5 separate regions of the Homo sapiens genome follow, and regions 2, 3, 4 and 5 are each linked to region 1. Evidence: promoter capture Hi-C in 16 types of primary human blood cells and fetal thymus (Javierre and others, 2016). All regions are on one chromosome and are shown on one strand. Each heading gives the region's core, a stretch centred on a gene start or on the middle of the fragment in contact. The rest is flanking DNA. Distances are from core to core; before and after follow the strand shown. Region 1 holds the start of TBPL1 (TATA-box binding protein like 1). Region 2 overlaps HBS1L (HBS1 like translational GTPase). Region 3 overlaps HBS1L (HBS1 like translational GTPase). Region 4 holds the start of RPS12 (ribosomal protein S12). Region 5 has its middle 9.2 kb from the start of VNN2.

The links. Contacts are between HindIII fragments. The CHiCAGO score rates a contact against its expected background, and 5 or more counts as called.
Region 2: a fragment that was not itself captured here is called in contact with the fragment with the promoter of TBPL1 in region 1 in 1 of 17 cell types (total CD8 T cells); the score reaches 5.1 in total CD8 T cells.
Region 3: a contact is called between a fragment that was not itself captured here and the fragment with the promoter of TBPL1 in region 1, in 1 of 17 cell types (M0 macrophages). The highest score is 5.6, in M0 macrophages.
Region 4: a contact is called between the fragment with the promoter of RPS12 here and the fragment with the promoter of TBPL1 in region 1, in 8 of 17 cell types (activated CD4 T cells, non-activated CD4 T cells, total CD4 T cells and 5 more). The highest score is 13.0, in activated CD4 T cells.
Region 5: a contact is called between a fragment that was not itself captured here and the fragment with the promoter of TBPL1 in region 1, in 1 of 17 cell types (total CD8 T cells). The highest score is 6.4, in total CD8 T cells.

Annotation. Positions count from the first base shown.
Region 1 is chr6:133,951,917-133,954,616 of GRCh38, reverse strand. TBPL1 (TATA-box binding protein like 1) reads right to left here and starts at 1,393. Exons shown (of 7, transcript NM_004865.4): 1 at 1,192-1,393. LOC128092253 (umcharacterized LOC128092253) reads right to left here and starts at 1,313. Exons shown (of 2, transcript NM_001414965.1): 1 at 1,192-1,313. The coding sequence starts at 1,313. RefSeq lists a silencer at 2,286-2,395. The HindIII fragment of the contact is 10,274 bases long and covers 1-2,700 here.
Region 2 is chr6:134,992,088-134,994,787 of GRCh38, reverse strand. It overlaps HBS1L (HBS1 like translational GTPase), which reads left to right. Exons shown (of 18, transcript NM_006620.4): 8 at 913-1,030. Among named protein-coding and RNA genes, the nearest start is that of MIR3662, 14 kb to the right of the region's middle. The HindIII fragment of the contact is 267 bases long and covers 1,162-1,428 here.
Region 3 is chr6:134,971,956-134,974,655 of GRCh38, reverse strand. All of the region lies in intron 15 of HBS1L (HBS1 like translational GTPase), which reads left to right. Among named protein-coding and RNA genes, the nearest start is that of MIR3662, 6.1 kb to the left of the region's middle. The HindIII fragment of the contact is 1,675 bases long and covers 466-2,140 here.
Region 4 is chr6:132,813,294-132,815,993 of GRCh38, reverse strand. RPS12 (ribosomal protein S12) reads right to left here and starts at 1,425. Exons shown (of 6, transcript NM_001016.4): 1 at 1,381-1,425; 2 at 1,212-1,262; 3 at 906-1,022. The coding sequence starts at 1,225. It overlaps SNORD101 (small nucleolar RNA, C/D box 101), which reads right to left and starts at 687; the gene lies at 615-687. It overlaps LOC107986644 (a long non-coding RNA gene), which reads left to right and starts at 1,706. Exons shown (of 3, transcript XR_001744345.3): 1 at 1,706-2,700. RefSeq lists enhancers at 960-1,089, 1,520-1,799, 1,714-2,460. The HindIII fragment of the contact is 13,401 bases long and covers 1-2,700 here.
Region 5 is chr6:132,765,761-132,768,460 of GRCh38, reverse strand. No RefSeq gene overlaps it. Among named protein-coding and RNA genes, the nearest start is that of VNN2, 9.2 kb to the right of the region's middle. RefSeq lists an enhancer at 96-255. The HindIII fragment of the contact is 5,294 bases long and covers 1-2,700 here.

The DNA of each region.
Region 1 (2,700 bases), core at 144-2,643:
TTCATTGTGCTACAGGAAAACCTCATTTACTCACCCAAAATGATTTTGTAAAGTATAAAACCATTAAGCAGCTTGTGATGTAAGACTAAAGAGGTAACATAAACTGATATTTCACTGGGCATACCAAACTGTGAATAATCCTTTCAACCAGATAGTGCTAACAGTCACTTCTCAATAGGAAGGAACTGCCATTTTCTCAAAGAGACTGCGAAATTATGCCAGGATGGCTGAACCTTCTTATGTCTCTTTTTATATTTTCCCAGAGAATCCACATTGCTTACACACACACACGCAAACCTGCTCCCTTTTCTTAAGTCACAGTTTTAAGGCACTGTTCTAAACCCTAAATACAGAAGCTCATGCACTTACTGCCAGTGTCGCTTTGGAACTGCAGGTGACAGATGCAGTCAGAGAGCTCACAGATGTGGATTGACTGCAGTTTGAGTCTTATTGCAATGAGCACATTGACAGAGCCTGCAGATGCACATCTCGGCAGGAGAGATTTTCTTTTTAAGCCCTCATGCCCTATTAGATTTACTTTTAGGGCTTTTATTGGCTATTTTTATCACTTATCCCGACTCTCATCCCTGCTTAGCCCTACCCACAATTCATTTTCTCTTCTTCAGTTCTAGATCCTTCTCCATCAATCCTAATTTTGGTCAAAAATAATAATAAAATAAAGCGAGGCTGCCGGCATTGCCAGAATCAGAAACCGACGAAGCCGCTTTTTGGGAGCTATTAGAGAAGCCGCTGTAAGTTTTCTGAGAAGCAACGGACCCCTAGCATCTTTGCACGGTCCCTCTTCCCCTGGGTGATGGCTCCGAGACAGATGAGGAATCTCTTTTCCCCGTCTTTCCCAGTGGTGGCTTAAACGAAAGATAACCCTTCTTTTCTTATCCTACACCAGGCTCGGTAACGCTCCCAGGTACGGACGCCCCACCCCCAACCCGTTATCCCTAAAGAGATCCCCAAATATCGCCCGGTCCTCTTCAGAACTGAGCCCTCCCTCGGCCACCGGACCGGTTTCCCCCACCTCAGCGGCTGCCCTCCAGTCGCCCGCCCCCACACATCCCACCCCAAGTCTGGCCCGGGCTCCGCACATGCCCACCCCGCGCCCAGACGCCCCGCACCCGGTGCTCAGGCCGCTCAGCCGCCCGCGCTCCCTGTGCCCAGGGTCGCCTAGGGGGTTACCGTGGGAAGAGGGAGCGGTGGCTGAGGACGCGGCGGCAGCGCTGCTGCCGGTTGCGTCGGATGCGAAGGAGAAGCTGGAGGACAAGGATGAGGATGAGACGGGCGCGCTCCCCAGTCTCCATGGAACTCCCGCCCCGGCCCGTTGCTAGGAGCCCCCGAGGCTCGGACTCCGTCTTCCTTGCTTTGTTGTTCCGGGTGCGAGGCGGCCGCAGCTTCCCCGCGACAATAAATAGACTAGACGCTGGGGAGCATAGAGACAGTGCGCGAGGGCTAGAGCGCCGCCGGACAGGGCGCTCCTGGGTGCCTCGCTAGCCACTCATTTCCGGCTCTCACTGCTCCCGTCACTTTCCCCGTCCCCCGCCCCCACCCTTCCTTCCTCCTTCCTGGTCCCCAAATCAGGCCCCTCCTGCCCACCCGCTGGGCTCGGTGGGAGGTAAGAGGTGGGATGGGGGCGGCGCTAATGGGCATCGGACTAGACTTTTTTGTTTAAGAACCGCTTGAAAGGGTTCTGAAAACACCGTGTATCCTTTGTATATTTTTAGTTGATATCTAAACGTGTAGTAATTTCTGGCATACAGTCGAATATTTAGGTGGACTTTTTTGTCAAAACCGTAGAACTTTCTCATCAGCTCATTAAATTTATACAAAAGGTCCTCCCCACCCCCCATTATATAATTGCTAAAGCTAGTCCTTACCGTCCAGACGAGACTTGTTTTCTGCCTGAAAAAAGTCCTTCGCTTTTTCAGTCAAAATGAACCCGTTAATTTATGATGTCGCGATAAATTCCCCTAGTGAGATTCCTCACTAGGCGAATTGGAATCCTGGTCTTAGAGCGACCGGGGATGACAGATGACAGACGGAGGGAAGGAAGTGGGGAGAGATGGAGACACAAGGTGTGGCGAGACGGAGGGATAACGCAGGACCGTATGCCACTTCTGTCGCCTGTCCCACATTCCTTACTCTACGTGGGTTTGCGGTCGGGACTGTCCCTCGGGAACCGAGAGGCGGATCCAGGAAGGATGGGAGTGGGAGAGGGCGGATGCTGGCGAGGACTCAGGCAGCCCGGGATAGGAGGACCTCTAGGAACGGAGACCCTCCGCGGCTCTGCGCCCAAGTAGCCCTGCAGGGGCCGGGGGACCCCGGGGGCGCACAATGGCCCGTTTGAACCGTCGCCCTGGGGCCCGAGTGCGTCCTCGGGGTCCCTCGGGAGTGGCCTGAGAGGCGCTGCCCGCGGGAGCGAAAATCGCGTAACGGCCCTGAGGGCGCCACGCCACGCCACGCCACGCCACGCCGCGCGGAAGCCCCCGGCTCCCGGCCCCACGTTTCCCACTCTCAGGCCGGCATCGGCCTTTCCACCAGAGCTCGGCTGCAGTCAGAAGCCCCTGGCGTTAGTTGAGGTCAATGGCAGCCCTGATTTAATTATTAAAAGACCACGCCGAGCCGGGTTCATGGGTACCTGGCCTCTGATTGGTGGGAATCAGATGAAAAAAATGAAAATGCCACTGCCTT
Region 2 (2,700 bases), core at 46-2,545, 1.0 Mb before region 1:
TTAAGCATCCCTAATCTGAAAATATGAAATTTGAAATGCTCCAAAATCTGAAACTTTTTGAGTGCTGACATGACATCACAAGTGAAACATTCTACATCTGATCTCATGTGACAGGTCACACAAAATGACTGAAAATGTTGCATAAGATTCCCTTCAGGCTATGTGTATAATGTGTATATGAAACAAAGGAATTTTGTGTTTAGATGTGGGTCCCATCCCCAAGATACCTCATTTTGTATATGCAAATATTCCAAGTCCAAAAAAGTCTGTAATTTGAAAAGCTTCTAGTCCCAAGCATTTCACTAATCTGAATCTACATTTTTGTGGCTGAAAAAAGGCACTATGTTGGTCTCCAGGAAGAATTAAATAGGATACAAAGCAATCTGCTGTTCATCTATCTCTGTTTTTTAAAAATTAGGCATCTGCTTTGATATCTTATGTTTTCTAAATATGTAGCATATTAACCAGCCTTGCAAATTAAGTTTTATAAGCTCATTTCTATAATTAGTGAAGCATAAGTGTAGAACGTGAAGAAAATTACCTCTCGGTCGTGGTAATTTTGCATTTGTCTTTTCTCATATGCAGTATTTTCCCCCCATTTAGAGTTGTCCCCATGTATCCTTCTTCACAATTTACACTATTTCTTACAAAACAAATAAGATAATAGGGCATAACTATCATTTTTATTGAGCTCTTACTTTGTCCTCCCTTTTATGTTAAAACCATATGGATGCACTTCTATTATAGCAGAAATTCCAGCCCCGATTGATAATTTAATTATTCAAAAATAATAGTCTATAAAAACAATTTCCATTTTTACCTAAGAATGTAGATGGTCATGTAGACTATTATTAATTTACTCTATAGCACTATTTATATCGTACATTCTAACCATGTTATGTTTTGTTTAAGGGGAGTAACCATGGATGTTGGTATGACAAAGTTTGAAACCACAACCAAAGTTATTACATTAATGGATGCTCCAGGCCATAAGGACTTCATTCCAAATATGATTACAGGAGCAGCCCAGGTAACTGCTGTTTTCTTCACTATAGTGTGCTGATTGTACTTTACATAAAATTTTCTGATGCTGAGGTTACAATTCTAGGATTTTGACTTTTAAAATATTTTAAAATTAAAAATTTTAACCTTTATAAAGCTTGAACAAAAAGAGCAATATTGTATTTTTCATGATCTTTCTACCTGTACTTTGTAAAACCTTTTAAAATTTCTTACAAAGAAACAAAATGTATAAAAGCTATGAGTTTCTTTATCGTAAAAGTAATGGTAAAGGACTTGATGAGTATAGCTTCATATTTCCTTTATTGATAAGTTGGCCTGAGTATTTCAAAATCTGCCTTATGTCTTTCAATATATTCAAGTTCTATATCTTTTTAAAGAGCTTGTTTATGCAGAAATAATGAAGCTTGGGTATTTTCGCCCAGTGGTTTATTTACTTTCTTTATAATATTAAAAAAGCATTGCAATTTGTAAATTACATGATTCTTAATAAGAATACTGCAAAAAATCAAATATAATTTGCATTCATACATCCCTTAATGATAAGGAAATATTCTGAGAAGTGAGTTGTTAGGCAGTTTCATCATTTGTGAACATATTTGAGTTTACTTACACAAATCTGGATGGTAACATCTTTTATACACCTAGGCTACATGGAACCTATAGTTCCAAGGCAACAAACATGTATAACATATTACTGTATTGAATACTGTAAGCAGTTGTGGCACAGTGGTAAATATTTGTGTATCTAAACTGATCTAAGCATATCATAGAAAAGGTACAGTAAAAATAGGGCATAAAAGATAAAAAATGGTACACCTGTATAGGGCACTTACCATGAATGGAGCTCGCAGGACTGGAAGTTGCTCTGGGTGATTCAGTGAGTGAATGTGAAGGCCTAGGACACGACTGTATACTTTACAAACACTGTACACTCAGGGGACACTACATTTATTTAAAAATATGTTTTTCTTTAATAGTAAATTAAGCTTAGCTTACTGTAGCTTTTTTTACTTTATAAACATTTAAATTTTTTTTAACTTTCTGACTCTCTTATAATAACACTTAGCTTAAAGCACAAACGTTGTACAGCTGTACGAAAATATTTTCTTTCTGTATAGTCTTATTCCATAAGCTTTTTTTAATATGTATTTTTTACTTTAAACTTTTTTTGGTGAAAAACAAAGACACAAATACGCACATTAGCCTAGGCCTACACAGGATCAGGATCATCAGAAGTGAAAAATAGTAAGTACATAAACCACTATCATAATTATCATTATAAAGTACTATACATAATTGCATATGCTATATTCTTTTATACAATTGGCAGCGCAGTAGATTTGTTTATACCAGTATCATCACAGATACATGAGTAATGCATGGTGCTATGACATTATGGCGACTATGACATCACCAGGCAATGGGAGTTTTTCAGCTCCATTATAATCTTATGGGACCACCATCACGTATGCGGTCCATGGTTGACCAAAACGTCATTATGCTGTGCATCACCGTAACTTTAAATTATTAAAGCAATGAAAATAGCACTGCATATATAGGACATTGATTTCTTTCATAATGGATGATTACTGGAAAACATGAAGAGTTAAAATAACTTGACTCTGTTACATGGCAAAAACATGACTTCAAGCAATTACCCGTTTTCTGGGATCTACT
Region 3 (2,700 bases), core at 54-2,553, 1.0 Mb before region 1:
TTTTTGCTTTTAATTGTTTCAGTGGTGAATCACATTTATTGACTTGCATATGCTGAACCATTCCTGCATCCTTGGGAGGAAACCTCCTTGATCATGATAAAATGTCTTTTGGATATGCTGTTGGACTTGGTTTGCTAGTATTTTGTTAGGGATTTTTGCATCTGTGTTTATCAGGGGTGTTGGTCTGTAGCTTTCTTTTTTTGTTATGTCCTTTCCTGGTTTTGTTATCAGGGTGATGATACTGGCTTTATGGAATGAGTTAGAGAAGATTCTCTCTTTCTCAGTCTTTTAATAGTTTCAGTAGGATTGGTATTATTTCTTTGAATGTCTGGTAGAATTTGGCTATGGATCCATCTGGCCCTGAGCTTTTTTGTTGTTGTTGAAAATTTTTTTTTTATTACTGATTTATTCTCACTGCTTGATATGTGTCTGTTTAGGATTTCTTATTTCTTCCTGATTCAAGCTTGGAGGGTTGTATGTTTCCAGGATTTATCCGTTTCCTCTAGATTTTCTAGTGTGTGCACGGAGGTGTTTATAGTAGTCTCAAATGATCTTTTGTATATCTGTGGTGTCGTTTATAATGTCTCCATTTTCCTTTTGAATTGAGCTTATTTGAATCTTCTCTCTTACTCTATATTTTTTAAGAGGAAATAATAGAAGAATGGATTAGACTTTAAGTGAATTTATATTTGATTTTTATTATTTTATATATATATATATGTGACATAGAACTTACCATTTTTAAGTGTACAATCAGTGGCATTAAGTACCTCCACAATGTTGTGCAGTCATCACTACTGTTCATTTTTTTTTTTTTCTTGAGATGGAGTCTCGCTTTGGCATCCAGGCTAGAGTGCAGTGGCACAATCTTGGCTCACTGAAACCTCTGCCTCCTGGGCTCAAGCAGTTCTCCTGCCTCAGCCTCCCGGAACTGCCTCAGCCTCTCGAGTAGCTGGGACTACAGGTGTGCACTACCACGCCTGGCTAATTTGTTTTATTTTTAGTGGAGACGGGGTTTCACCATGTTGGCCAGGCTGGTCTTGAACTCCTGACCTCAGGTGATCCACCCGCCTTGGCCTCCCAAAGTGCTGGGATTATAGGCATTGAGCCACTGCGCCTGGCCAGTCATCACTACTATTCATCTGCAGAACTTCTTCAACATCCCAAACTGAAAATCTGTACCCATGACACAGTATCTTCCCATTATTCCCTCTTGGTATCCCCTGATAACCATTCTTCTACTTACTTTCTCTGTGAATTTGCCTGCTCTAGGTTCCTTATGTAAGTGGAATCATACAATATTTGTCCTTTTGTGTCTGGCTTATTTCACTTAGCAAATTGTTTTCATGGTTTGTCCATGTTGTAATATGCATCAGAATTTCATCCCCTTTTAAGCCTGAATAACATTCCATTGCATGTATATACCACCTTTTAAAAATCCATTTATCTGTTGATGCACATTTGGGTTATTTCCATCTTTTGGCTATTACAAATAATGCTGCTGTGAAAACGGGTGTACAAGTATCTATTGAGATTCCTGCTTTCCATTCTTTTGGGCATATGCCTAGGAGTGGAATTGCTGGATCATATGGTAATTCTGTGTTTAACTTTTTGAGGAACTGCTAAACCATTTTCCACAGGGGCTCTACCATTTTACATTCCCACCAGCAGTGCATAAGGGTTCTATTTTCTCTACTTTCTTGTCAACACATTAAATAACAAGTTTTCTAGTAGTGGGGTGTGGGAGAGGGATTTTAAAAATATAATAGGCAAACTAATAGTTGTTAAGTGGTGTCTCATGGTGGTTTTGGTTTGGATTTCTCTAATTAGATGCTGAACATCTTTTCATGTGCTTATTGGCCATTTGTATATCTTTGAGAAATGTCTTTTTAAATCCTTTGCACATTTTGAATTAGGTTGTGTTGTTATTAATAGAAGTTCTTAATATCATCCCTTATTACATACATGATTTGCAGATATTTTCTCCTATTCTCTAGGCTGCCTTTTCATTTTCTTGGTAGTGTCCTTTGTTGCACAAAAGTTTTTAATTTGGTTGAAGTACAGTTTATTTTTTCCTTTGTTGCCTATGTTTTTGGTGTATTATCCAAGAAATCATGGCCAAATCCAATGTCATAAAGCTTTTGTGCTATGTTCTCTTCTAAGAGTTTTGTTGTTTTTGCTTTTATATTTAGGTCTTTGATCCATTTTCAGTTAAGTTTTGTACATATGTAAGGTAGAGAGCTTCATTGTTTTGCATATGGATATCCAGTTTTCCCAGCACGATGAGTTGAAAAGACTATTCCTTCCCTATTGAATGGTGCTGGTACCCTGGTTGAAAACCAATTGACTATGTATTTGTTAACATTTTAAAAATACAGGTTATCTAGAAAATTAAGGAAAATGATTTACTTGGCCACCTAACAGACTACGTAGCCCATTTGAGTTTATAGAACACTAGATAATTTGATTCTCATAACCCTACACGAAGAATAGAATCCCAGCCTTTACCTGAAACCCTTTAGAGCAATGGTTTTAGAATTCAGAAATGTTAGAACTTTAGAAAGGTAAATAATGCATACAAGTTACATAACAGAAGGGAACAACACTCTAAAATCAAAATATTAATGTTTCTGCACCAGAACTTATTAACACTAACTGAGATAAATAAGATCTATACATTGCCTCACTTCAAGTCTGGTT
Region 4 (2,700 bases), core at 176-2,675, 1.1 Mb after region 1:
TGGGCATGGTGGCGTGTGCCTGTAATTCCATCTACTCGGGAGGCAGAAGAATCGCTTGAACCTGGTAGGTAGAGGTTGCAATGAGATCGCGCCACTGCACTCCAGCCTGGGGGACAGAGCAAGACTCTTTGTCTCAAAAAAAAAAAAGAAAAAAGAAAAAAAAAAGACTGTGGCATTAATGGAACAGTTATGAAATGCCATGCAATAATGCCGAAATAGAAATACAGAAGACTCATACTAGGACCTACTAAATACATTAAACAATAATGCCGTTTCCATCGGATTGAACTGGCTAGATTACACCAAAACGAACTTGTCCTGTAAAACCTTAAAACTGCATTTAAATTCAGCTCAAGAGTAGGTTGATTTGTCAATGCCACCACCCTAAAAAACACATTAACTCGATCCATTCAAATACATTAACAAATATCCCAAATTCAAATAAATCACAGCTATTATACTACTAAATTCATCTAGGACCAAATGCTTCTGAAACCTGAGTTTGAAATTCCATTAAATTAATGCTTGTTTTGCAAACTACCAGATGTAATGTGGCTCTCCATCTCATCTATCTGCCAGATAAGTATAAGACTGACTAGCTCCACAACCTACAGGTTTGTCAGACTCTTATGTTTCACTCATAAAAGGAGTGAAGGGGTATCCGACAATTAAAGTCATCATTCAAACACTGTAGTTTTGAGTGCTTATCCCCATTCCAAACAGCAACCCACACATTTTAAGTGGGCTTTATAGATCTGAGTTCTGATACCTTTTCCTAGGTTTCCGGTAGGACGGATGCCATTCAGAACTTTTGCGCTAACACCATGAACTCCATGCCTTCTTCCCTTGGGTGGCAGTTTTGTTCCGGTTGCAAGAACCCACAGTATTGAGACTGATACACGTACTTGTCTAAGGCTTTGGCAGCTTCGCGAATTCCACGTGCTAGGCCATCGTGGATGAGGGCAGTCTTCAGAACCTCTTGTAAAGCAGTATTAACGTCCATTACACCTCCAGCAGCAATGCTTAAACGCGACACATCAGAACCATCAGTTAAAATCCTCACACCACATAAGGCCTTGCACTCAGCAAAAGCTAAGTGTACAACAGACGCGCTTACGGCGACCCGTTTGACCCAGTCCTGTTCCGCCAGCTCTAGCCCCACGCCTCAGCCGCACCCCGACCCCAACTCCAACCCCGGCCCCTGGGCTCACCCTTCCTCGGCCATGGCGGTGGGTTACGGGTGAAGTTGAATCTTGAACGCACTAAAAAACAAAAGCATTGACTTGTTAAAGAACCAGATACTCGTCACGAATCCCAGCAAGAACGCAACGAGCCACAAATTATAACCAATACACCCCCCTGCCGCCTCGCTCAACTTACCCCAAGCCTCCGCCTCCGCGCGACTCGGCGGCGGCAGGGAAAGAGGCCTCATCCGCACGCATGCCGGTATTTAAGGGTTTTTCAGGTCCCCTGTGCGCATGTGCACTCCCACCCTCGAAAGAGGTGGCTCCCGCAGTGCCGGGCCTGGGGAGTTTCTGTTTCCGGATTGAGGCGGTTCTGAGGCAAACGTACTGCGAGTTTTCTATCTCTGCCAGGCCGGTCCTTGGCGAGTGCAACAGGCACTACGCGGGCAGCTTCGCGTTGTCCTTCTTTGCGGAGGCGTGGCCCACCGAGGCCCAGGGAACTCATTCTACGGAGCGCGACAGAAGCCAAACAAGTGTGTCCGCGTGTTCTTTAAGGCACCTAGAGCCCTGTATCCCGCCGAGCGCCAGTTTTAACCCTTTCCACACCACGTTCTACTTTCCTGTTGCTTCTACAAGACCCAGCCTCCCCAGGCAGCGCACTTTGTTCCTTCGCTTCTAAGTCACCCTGAGAGACCATGTTTGTGTCGTTGTGGGTGTGATCCTCATCTTTGTCTTCATGAAACGAGAGCCTACATGCTTTCACTCTTCCAGGCTGGAGTGCAATGGCGCGATCTCAGCTTACTGCGACCTCCGGCTCCCGGTTTCAAGCGATTCTCCTGCCTCAGCCTCCCGAGTAGCCGGGATTGCAGGCGCCTGCCACCACCCTGGCTAATTTTTTGTATTTTTAGTAAAGACGGGATTTCACCATGTTGGCCAGGCTGGTCTCGAACTCCTGACCTCAGGGGATCCACCCGCCTCGGCCTCCCAAAATGCTGGGATTAGAGGCGTGACCCGCCGCCCCCGGCCGCTTTCACTATTTCTAAGCCCTTTCCCTGCGGTGTGTTGGTAAAGCGGAACCCTGCAGCCAGGGGTCAATTCTAGTTTCTAAGTATAGCGGGAGTCGCTTCTGAACGAAGTTTGTTCTGCTTTGTTTGGTTTTTAACGACGCGTTGTGCTCGGAATACACAGTTCCGCGCAACTCAGAATTCCTCAGGTGCATTTTCAACACCTACAATGTGCCTGACGCAGGGCCAGGTCCTGGGACTACAGACATGAAATATCCAGTCTTTGAGGAGTCCATTTTCTTCCAGGAAGCAATATTTTAAATTTGGAAGTGATTGGCCATTCCCCAATCCCCACTTCCAAACCAAACGCACGAAACACTACTGAATATGATCAATACTGCCTTTGTGTTTAATTTCCTCTCCTGGGTAGTCAGCCGCCAAACCAGTGAGCAATTATTAGGCGCTTGGCACGTGCCAGCGCTGTGAATCCAGTGGGCAGATACTGTTAGACT
Region 5 (2,700 bases), core at 165-2,664, 1.2 Mb after region 1:
AAGACTGGATGTACATCTGTCTTGTGATCTCTTCATTTCCCTATCCCCTCAAACCTTTCACTCTTGAACCTCCAGAGGGCGATCCAATGTCTGAGGAGGACAAATGGCCTGCAATTCCCTTCCCGGAGCAGTGCCAGGACAGAGTGTGACCCTGGCCCCCTGCACCCATGTGGCATGCAGATCTGGGCCTTGATTGCCTTAAGTCATCCTGGCCCCCTCCAGGACTTTTTTGACCTTCATGTCCACCCACGCAAGGACAGCCGCCCTTCCTCAGCCCGGTGGTCTTGGATGCGGCTGAGTGCCTGCAGTCCCTGCCACTGTCACTTGGGGCCACTATTAAAGCATGAGTCTGCAGCTTGCACCTTCCTACCCACTATCTGGGCCAGCCTATTCTGTTACCAGCACAGTTGATTGTTGAGAATTCAAAGTCAACGCAAGGATTCGAGGCTCTCTGGGGAGAGAACTTCCTTCATCCCCATTCCCAACACACGGCTCTCAATACTTCCCTTGGATAGCAGTGTATTTAAAGATGCTATGTACAAAACCAAATTTACTCCTTTCTCATTTTGAAATTTTGCAAGTATTAAGATAAGTGGGCCGGGAGCAGTGGCTCACGCCTGTAACCCCAGTACTTTGGGAGGCTGAGGTGGATGGATCACGAGGCCAAGAGATCAAGACCATCTTGGTGAAACTCCATCTCTACTAAAAATACAAAAGTTAGCTGGGCATGGTGGTGTGCGCCTATAGTCCCAGCTACTTGGGAGGCTTAGGCAGGAGAATTGCTTGAACCCGGGAGAAGGAGGTTGCAGTGAGCCGAAATTGCGCCACTGCACTCCACCCTGGTGACAGAGCAAGACTCCGTCTCAAAAAAAAAAAAAAAAAAAAAAGTCACAGAAAAGTTTAAAAAATATGAGAAAAGACAGAGGAAAGAACACTTTGAACAAGAAAACCAAAAGGTAGGTCAAAACTATCAAAGGAAATCTCTGTGTATGTGTTTGTATTTTTATATATTTATAGTCTTCTAAATGTAACAAGGCTGAGCAGCTTAAAAGAACCTTTTTAATAATGAGAATATTCTATATAACTGAATGTGGAATATGTTAGTAATAAAAGGAATCTTTTATGTTAAGATCATATTGCAACCTATACATTATAATATGATACATAAATCAATCCAAAGGAAAACTAAAAAGGTTAAATACAAATCACAGATCATTTTTAAAAATTAAACTTTAAAAATTTTGAGATAATTGTTAATTCACATGCAGTTGTAAGAAATAATAGAAAAAGATCATGAGTATTCTTTCCCTGGTTTTCACCAATGATAACATCTTGCAGAACTATAGTACAATAGCACAACCAGGATACAGAACATTCCCATCGCCACATTCTTCACGTTGTCTTTTTGTAGCTACACCCACTTCCCTCCCATCTTCACTTCTGGCAGCCACTAATCTCTTCTCCATTTCTATCATCTGGTCATTTCAAGAAACGTATAAATGAAATCGTATTGTATGAAACTTTTTGGATTGGCTTTTTTCAGTCAGCATAATGCCCTTGAGTTCTATTGGCATTGTTGCATGTATCAATAGTTCAGTTCTTTAAATTGCTGAGTAGTATTCCATTGGGTGGCTTTAAGACACAATGGAATACTACTTTATTTGTTACAAATAAAGCAGCTATGAACTTTCAGAAACAGGTTTTTTGTTTGTTTGTTTGTTTGTTTTTGCCAGGGGCGAGGGTAGAGGGTGGGATATGAAGCATAAGACTTCACTTCTCTGGAATAAATGCCCAGCAATACAACTGCTGAGTTGCGTGATAATTGCATGATTAGTTTGTTTTCAACTAACTCATTTATTTTAGATAAGAAACTTGATTTTGACAATAAATATTAAATATCACGCATTAATGAAATATCTGGTCAGCCATGGTGGCTCATGCCTATAATCCCAGCACTTTGGGAGGCCGAGGTGGGCGGATCACCTGAAGTCAGGAGTTCAGGACCAGCCTGGCAAACATGGTGAAACTCCATCTCTACAAAAAAATACAAAAATTAGCCGGGCATGGTAATGCCAGCTACTCAGGAGGCTGAGGCAGGAGAATCGCTTGAACCTGGGAGACGGAGGTTCCAGTGAGTTGAGATCACGCCACTACACTCCAGCCTGGGTGACAGAGCAAGACTCTGTCTCAAAATAAATAAATAAATAAATAAATAAATAAATAAGAAATATCCTATTTACTTATTTGTTTAATGATCAAGATTTAAATACGTCACAGATACCCTCTCTAACCTAGCTGGAAAAGATGTGGATAATAAATTCTTATATAGCCAATCAACTTTCATTAAGTGCAATTAATAATTGAGAAGTATCTCTACACATTCATATCAGAAGGAAATTACCCACAGGGTAGTCCCATGATACTCACCATTTCTTTGGTGTCACTGTCACATGACCCCGTTTTATGAAACAAACCCACAGGAGGGGAGGCTCAGACACAACATATTTACATGGAGAAGCTAAAATGTTATTTAAAGTATTAACAAAGGAAACTAAATTCTGCATAGCCAATCTTCATTAAGAGCAGCTTGCAACTCCTAAATATTTGCAGTAGTTTCTTTCAGAAAACCTACAGCTGGACTTCTAATCCCAGCTTACTTATAGTTGAGTATTACAAGGGACCACCTAGGAAAGCATGATG